Linked DNA regions of Homo sapiens: region 1 is linked to region 2. The links are contacts of gene promoters, found by promoter capture Hi-C in human tissues and cell types (Jung and others, 2019). All regions are on one chromosome and are shown on one strand. The core of a region is centred on a gene start or on the middle of the fragment in contact, and the rest is flanking DNA. Distances in the headings are between cores, read along the strand shown.

What was found. Contacts are between HindIII fragments. The study calls those that stand out against the background at their distance.
Region 1: a contact is called between the fragment with the promoter of ZNF597 here and the fragment with the promoter of IL32 in region 2, in 3 of the 25 tissues and cell types used here (IMR-90 fibroblasts, heart left ventricle and pancreas).

Annotation. Positions count from the first base shown.
Region 1 is chr16:3,441,169-3,445,415 of GRCh38, reverse strand. It overlaps ZNF597 (zinc finger protein 597), which reads left to right and starts at 1,912. Exons shown (of 4, transcript NM_152457.3): 1 at 1,912-2,056; 2 at 2,210-2,295. The coding sequence starts at 2,263. NAA60 (N-alpha-acetyltransferase 60, NatF catalytic subunit) reads right to left here and starts at 1,736. Exons shown (of 8, transcript NM_001083601.3): 1 at 1,579-1,736. RefSeq lists an enhancer at 1,503-1,652. The HindIII fragment of the contact is 11,416 bases long and covers 203-4,247 here.
Region 2 is chr16:3,064,390-3,067,552 of GRCh38, reverse strand. It overlaps IL32 (interleukin 32), which reads right to left and starts at 1,913. Exons shown (of 7, transcript NM_001376923.1): 1 at 1,866-1,913; 2 at 1,727-1,769; 3 at 138-176. The coding sequence starts at 1,741. RefSeq lists an enhancer at 2,110-2,419. The HindIII fragment of the contact is 16,762 bases long and covers 1-3,163 here.

The DNA of each region.
Region 1 (4,247 bases), core at 663-3,162, 380 kb before region 2:
TGTAGTCCCAGCTACTCAGGAGGCTTAGGCAGGAGAATCATTTGAACCCCGGAGGCAGAGGTTGCAGTGAGTCAGGATTGTGCCACTGCACCCCAGTCTGGCTACAGAGTGAGACTGTCTCAAAAAAAAAAAAAAAAAAGAGATAAGCACAAACCAAGAAGGGAAAGATGACTACGTGAACACCACAGTGACTCAACCATGAACATCTCCTTTACTTACACCTTCATATACAGGCTATTAGCTCTTCTTCAACATATATGCTTTGGACTGGTCTAGCCTGTAGGCAAGTTTGTTCTTACCATTCTTCCACCTGTCCTGGAAGCACCTTTACTGGGACTTCACAGCTACCTCTTTTGTGATCCATCCCCACAAGGTCTAGCTCTTAGTTAGCTGTCAAGAGATATCATTTGTGGCAGATACTGCTAGTTTCTTATCTAACTTATTTTCCACATCTCTTTTTTTCATTTGTAACAAAGCCCTAATTTTGTGCAGGTAGATTATCAAGGGAGGCTAGGTCCTTCCCCTAGTGACAGGGGCTGAAGCATGATGGGCCCCAAACAATTATTTATTCTTGGTAATAACTAGTTTAGGATGGGTACATGACACAATACATGTCTGTATATTTTACCTGGATTCTATTGTCAACGTTACCAACATGCTTAGGGTGGCAGAGAAGCACTGGGACCTTGATGTTGTCACTGGGCCACCGAATTAACCAACCTGTAACTGCTCTTTGAACATCCTTTCGGTGGGTTTTCTGTTACTTGTAGCTGAAACTATCCTATCAGATATTCCACAAAATCACATTACCTAAGTTGTCAAATCTCCTAATATTGTTTTAATAACCATGCAGCCATTCATTAAGCTTTTAGATACAGGAATGTGCCTGGCACTGGAATAAGGAAATATGTTGAGACTTTTCAGGCTTTTCTATCAAGGTACCTATCATTTTCGTCTTTTTTTTTCCCCAAACACCTTTATAAACTGGCAATTTCTTTCACTTACATTATCTTATAATCTTTGAAATTACCCTCTGAGTTAGCCCAGAGAGGCACTCTGAGCTGTTTGCAGCTGAGGAAAGCAAAGTTGTAAACTGGCCAAGATTACCAACCAATCAGTGGCAGAGCTTGGGGAGGAGCTCAATTTTCCAATTCCAAATGCCTACACCAGGGCACTCCCTCCTCCCCCAGCACACAATAGGAAATGACTGGCTCTAGGGTAGGCTGCATGTGAGGTATCCGGGGGCGAACAACGTCCTGCGACGCTAACCTATGGCTCTATTCTCGCGTGGGATCCTGTGACTAGGAAGCTGAAGCAGCTCGCTTAGGCTGCAGCTGCGGGTACAATACGTAATGCCTCTATAACACTTTGAGTCAGAGTCCAGCAACCTGGCCTACACCGATGTGAACGTTGTGAACGTACACAAAGATACTCCTTCATGTTCCACGGCCCCACCATCCGCTCAAGACACAAAGGACAGCTCAAGCCCAGGCTAGGCCCGAACCCCCGCCCTCTCAATCACCTTGCTCTGGCCAGACCGAAATTTCAGGCCTACAGGGCACTGTTGGCCGAACCCACATTTTGTTACCGATTTTCTTTCGAGTTCCGGTGTCTCCCAGTCTTCTTTCTGTCCTTCTTCTCGGAAACATTACGTCCCCCTGGGGTCACCCTAAGACTCTACTTCAGCAGGCAAACAGGCCCGGAGCTCACGGAGGAGACCCCGCCAGCGGAAGCGGAAATGGTTGCTTAGAGAAAAGGAGGAAAACTACCTCTCGCAGCTGCCCAGTGGCTACAGGTCCTCGGTTAAGGTGTTCAATTGGTCAACACAAAAGAAGGACTTCCCCTTCGGGAGAACTTCGACCAATCAAAGGGCAGGATGGCGGAGAGGGCTGAGGGCGGGTCGCTTCCGGCGGCTTTTCCCGCAGCTCCTGCGTAAAGGAGCATGAGAGCGTGGGAGTTTTGCAGTGGCCGTGGCGTTCTTCGTCGCGTCTCGGTCGGGCGTCGCTTTCTGCAGCTCCTGTCAGGGAGCGCGAGGCCTGTTATTAACCGCGGAGCGGTAAGTGGGCCCCTTTCGAGGCCGGGCCAAGAGGAGGAGCAGTCGGCGTAGGTTTTTAAGGGGGGGTTCGGAGGGAATCGAGGGAGGCTAGGGGTAGTGGAGGAACTTGGCAGCGGAATTGGTCCCTTTAAGAACTGTTCTCTCCCCCCGCAGCTTTGTCACGAAGTCCCTGTGGCGTCTTGAAGAAGGCATTCCCCACCCGCCAAATGGCGTCCATGCCCCCGACGCCCGAGGCCCAGGTGAGTCGAGGTACCTTTTTCGTCCAAGTTTATTGCTGCTTTCGGTCTCTGCCTGACCCCCTCCTTTGGAGGAGAGTTGGGCATGCCTGTTGTGGTAGGAGTGCTCCTGAGCCCCAAATAGCCCTTTGACCAAGTGTTCTTCGTTCCAAGACCACACACATAATGGTTTACCAACTTCCTTCTTTCAGAACTACCAACTGGGAGCAGGGACCTGTGGAGGAATCTCTGAGAGAGTTTCTCAATGTCTTATCTGTTTGTTTTGTTTTGTTTGGAGATAGGGTCTGGCCTTGTCGCTGGAGTGTTGCTTGTCTGGCTGGAGTGCAGTGCTGATATCATAGCTCCGTCTGGAACTCAGGGAATCCTTACGCCTCAGCCTCTCGAGTATCTGAGAGGCGCGCATACCACAGTGTCTGGCTACTTTTAAAAGTTCTTTTTTTTTTTTTTTTGATACAGAGTCTCGCTCTGTCGCCCAGGCTGGAGTGCAGTGGCGCGATCTCGGCTCACTGCAAGCTCCGCCTCCCGGGTTCATGCCATTCTCCTGCCTCAGCCTCCCGAGTAGATGGGACTACAGGCGCCTGCCGCCACGCCCTGCTAATTTTTTGTATTTTTAGTAGAGACGGGGTTTCACCGTGTTAGCCAGGATGGTCTCAATCTCCTGACCTTGTGATCCGCCCGCCTCGGTCTCCCAAAGTGCTGGAATTACAGGTGTGAGCCACTGCGCCCGGCCTAAAACTTCTTTATGGAGATGGAGTCTTGCTGCTTTGCCAAGGAACTCCTGGCCTTCAGCTATCCTCCCACCTCGGCTCCCCAAAGTGCTAGGATTAAAAGTGACTTTCTGGAATGGTTCCCAAAATTACAGATTTGGTACTTCTCCAATTTGAATGAATTTTTAAATTAAGCACATTTCTAGACTCCACACTCGTTGAGTAATAATAAATCCCAAGTGATTAATTTATCACACCGTTAGAGAAGGTGGGGTAGGCCTGGATGAAGTGCTGGAGTGAGCTTAGCAATGAGTGTCATGGGGACGAGAGGAAATAGCAAAGGGAAGGATGTTGGGAGAATCCTGTAACCTTTATCTCTTTATGATTCTTCCTGGGCTGCCCAACTTTCTCCTTTTCTTTTCTTTTTTTTTTTTTTTTTGAGACAGTCTCGCTGCGACGCCTAGGCTGGAGTGCAATGGCGCGATCTCGGCTCACTGCAATCTCTGCCTCCTGGATTCAAACGATTCTCCTGGCCCAGCCTCCCAAGTAGCTGGGACTACAGGCGCATGCCACCACATCTGGCTAATTTCATTTTATTTTAATTTATTTTTTGAGACAGAGTTTTTTTTGTTGTTGTTTTGTTTTTGTTTTTGTTTTTGAGATGGAGTGTCGCTCTGTTGCCCAGGCTGGAGTGCAGTGGCACGATCTCAGCTCACTGCAAGCTCTGCTTGAGACGGAGTTTTACTCTTGTTGCCCAGGCTGGAGTGCAATGGTGCAATCTCGGCTTACTGCAACCTCTTTCTCCTAGGTTCAAATGATTCTCCTGCCTCAGCCTCCCAAGTAGCTGGGATTATAGGCATGCGCCACCACACCTGGCTAATTTTTTGTATTTAGTGCAGACAGAATTTCACCATGTTGGTCAGGCTGGTCTTGAACTCCTGACCTCAGGTGATCCACTCGCCTCCACCTTCCAAAGTGCTGGGGTTACAGGCGTGAGCCACTGTGCCCAGCCTTAATTTTTGTAATTTTAGTAGAGACAGGGTTTCACCATATTGGCCAGGCTGGTCTCGAACACCTGACCTCAAGTCATCTGCATCCCCCTCAGACTCCCAAAGTGTTGGGATTACAGGCATGAGCCACCACACCCGGCCCCAAACCTCTCCTTTTCTTAGAGCATCCTCACTTAATGGTTGCCTCCCTAAGAGCCATTCCCTCATCTTTTCTCTTTCAAGATAGACAATAATTCTC
Region 2 (3,163 bases), core at 664-3,163:
TGTGAAGAGAGGCAGAGTTGGCACCAAAGGGCCGGATCCTTGTCCCTCCAGGGTCCCAGGTGTCCCACAGTGTCCTCAGTGTCACACGCTGAGACCCAGGCCCCCAACCCCTGAGCAGAAGTAGGGAGGAGCATTACCATTCGGGCCTTCAGCTTCTTCATGTCATCAGAGAGGACCTGCGGAAATAACGGTGACACTCAGTCTCCATGTGTCACCTTAACCTTTCCTCCAGGATAATTTATACACACACACACACACACACACACACACACACACACACAGAGACACATGGCAGAGGTACAGGATAAGAGGAGACAGCAGTCCCAGGAGCCCCTCACAGCCTGGAAAGACCGGCCAGGGCTGTCCTCGAAACGACTCAGAAAGCGCTTCTCTCAGGAGCCGGCTCAGCTGGGCAGGCCCAAGAGCAGGGCCAGCATGGGCCTAGGTGACCCCTCCTCACAAGAGCAGGGCCTGCGTGGGCCTAGGTGACCCCTCCTCACAAGAGCAGGGCCTGCGTGGGCCTAGGTGACCCCTCCTCACAAGAGCAGGGCCTGCGTGGGCCTAGGTGACCCCTCCTCACAAGAGCAGGGCCTGCGTGGGCCTAGGTGACCCCTCCTCACAAGAGCAGGGCCTGCGTGGGCCGGGGTGTCCTCCCTGCACACACACACCCCCCCATGTACACACACGGGAGGATGGACACTGTCCTGGAGCAGGCTGGCTCAGCTGGGTTTCCCACAACCACTATGGTCCCAGGTGAGAGTTGGCCAAGGAAAAAATGTTTAGGGACATGACAATTGAGAAGGTAACAGCAGCCATTCCTCTCTGATGAGCTGATTAATATTTGGGGTGCCAGGTAGGTCCACCCTACAACCTGCCACTCTTCCCGACTGCCAACATGCAGACCCACAGGTCCCGGGCCATTCCTGCCTGCAGACACGTGGCTGCATCCACAGAGGCCAGAGGCACCCCACAGAATCCCCGCTGAGCCCCCACGTCAAGGGCCTAGTCTCGGGGGTGACATGCCTGGTTTCCCCCACTATAGAGTGGTGACAGTCACCCACAGAGTGCGCAGGGCCTGGGGACATATTCTGGGCAGGGCAGCTGTCTGCACACTTTCAGGCAGCGATGGTCCCATCCCGCTAGCCTGATTTCCCAGGAACCAGGGTGAAAGCAGCACCGTGCCGACATGCGGGAGCCATGTGTCCTCCGGGTCACTGTCCTGAACCTGAGCCAGGCCACATCATGGAAACCCCTATTGTCACAGGCCGAAGAGCTCCCTGGAGGGTGTGGTGGGCCTAGCATTTGCGGTGGGGCAGTGGTAGAGGATGGGAGGTCGGAGGGAACCCAGGAAAGGAGGAAGAGACACCAGGACCCACACAGGCCTTGCTCTTGGGCCCACCCAGCTGAGCCGGCCTCTGAGAGAAGCATTCTCCGAGTCGTTTCCAGCAGAGCCCTGCCCCACCCCTGCCCCGGGCTTTCCGGGCTGTGAAGGGCTCCTGGGACAGGTGCTCCCTCTCATCCACACCCCTGCCGTTCTCCAGCGCCCCCGACACATATGACCTCCAGCGCCTCCACTGACACTCTCACCCCATCACTATCCTCCTGCCGCTGGGTGCCCCTGACTGAGCCCTGACACACAGGCACCTCGGGAAATACTGAGGGCACCCGCACCCTTACGGTCTGTTTTCAGACATGCCCACAAAAGCACACGCAGCCTCTCACTCACCTTCGGGAAGCACATGGCGGCCAAAAGTTCAAGGAGCCAAGGCCTGCTGGCGAGGAACAGGTGTGAGGAAAAGAAAGTGTCTCAGAGAAGCACCCTCCTCCCCAGAGGGTCCTCACCTTCGGGGACCCCAACTCCCCACCTGAGATGACCCAGCTCCACTGAGACAGTCACCTTCTGCACGCAGTCTTCCTGGCACAAATACTCAGCTGGTTTTATGGGGAAAGTGGGGGGTAGTGGGCGGAGCCTCTCTCAGGGCAGGAGGCCTTGCTGAGTGCGTGAAAAACAGACAGAGACAGAGACAGAGACAGAGACAGACAGAGATGGAGACTTACCCGAGAGAGACAGAGGTCTGGGGTCCCTGGGAGGAATGAGGGTCCGTCCCTGGCTGGGCCCCTGCTCCCTCTGAGCTGGGGTGGGAGTCTCTGAGCCCAGGAATGGGCTGCTTTCCCCACCCCACCAGCCTGAGAGTGGGGAGGGGCAGAGGGAAAGTCCAGACTCGGGACAGCTGGCTGGGGAAACTCCCTGAGTACAGGAAGGTGACGTCAGCCAAGTGGGATCCAAGGACAAAGGAATTTGGACCCTGTCCTTGCATGAGGTGTGCCCCGGCTCCAGAGGCCAGAGAAACTTCTGGATCAGAAGGAGGCAGGAACTGCCGGACCTAAGAGGGGCGCCGTGAGGGCAGGGGCCTGTGCACGTTGGAGGGGTGGCTAGTGGTGATGTAGATCTACCTGTGGGACAAGATAGGACCCTCTGCAGGGTGGAAGGCATCCTGCCGGCTGTCTGAGCTTGGCTGACCAGGTCCTTCTGACCCTTCTGGGCCAAGGCAAGGCCATCTGGGGCCGAAGGTCACTGGTCTCAGCAATCTTGGGGCTCCCCTACGGGCTCTTCTAGCTCCACGGGTTCTGACCCTCCAGCCTGGCTGGGCCTCCCACCTCCTCCTCACGGCCCCCAGCCCCCTTCCCCCAGCTGAGCACAACCACGCCCTTGCCTTTGGGATGGTTTCCTGGGGCCAAACTAAGGAAGTACCACGACAAGGGGCCCTAAGTCGAAGACGTCTCTTCCCTCACGATCTGCAGGCTGGAGGTCCAAGGTCAATGTGGGCAGCGTGGGGTCCTTCTGAGGGCCCGGAGCTGGGATTCTGTTCAGGTTTCTCCTGCCCTTGTAGATGGCCATCTTCATCTTCATCACGTTCTGCCTGGGTGTGACTGTCCCCCTTTCCCCTTTCCAAAGGACACCAGTCATATTGAAATAGGGTCCACCCTAGGCCGGGCGCAGTGGGTCACGCCTGTAATCCCAACACTTTGGGAGGCCGAGGCGGGCAGATCACCTAAGGTCAGGAGTTCTAGACCAGCCTGGCCAACATGGTGAAACCTTGTCTCTACTAAAAATACAAAAATTAGCCTTGCGTGGTGGCCGGCACCTGTATTCCCAGCTACT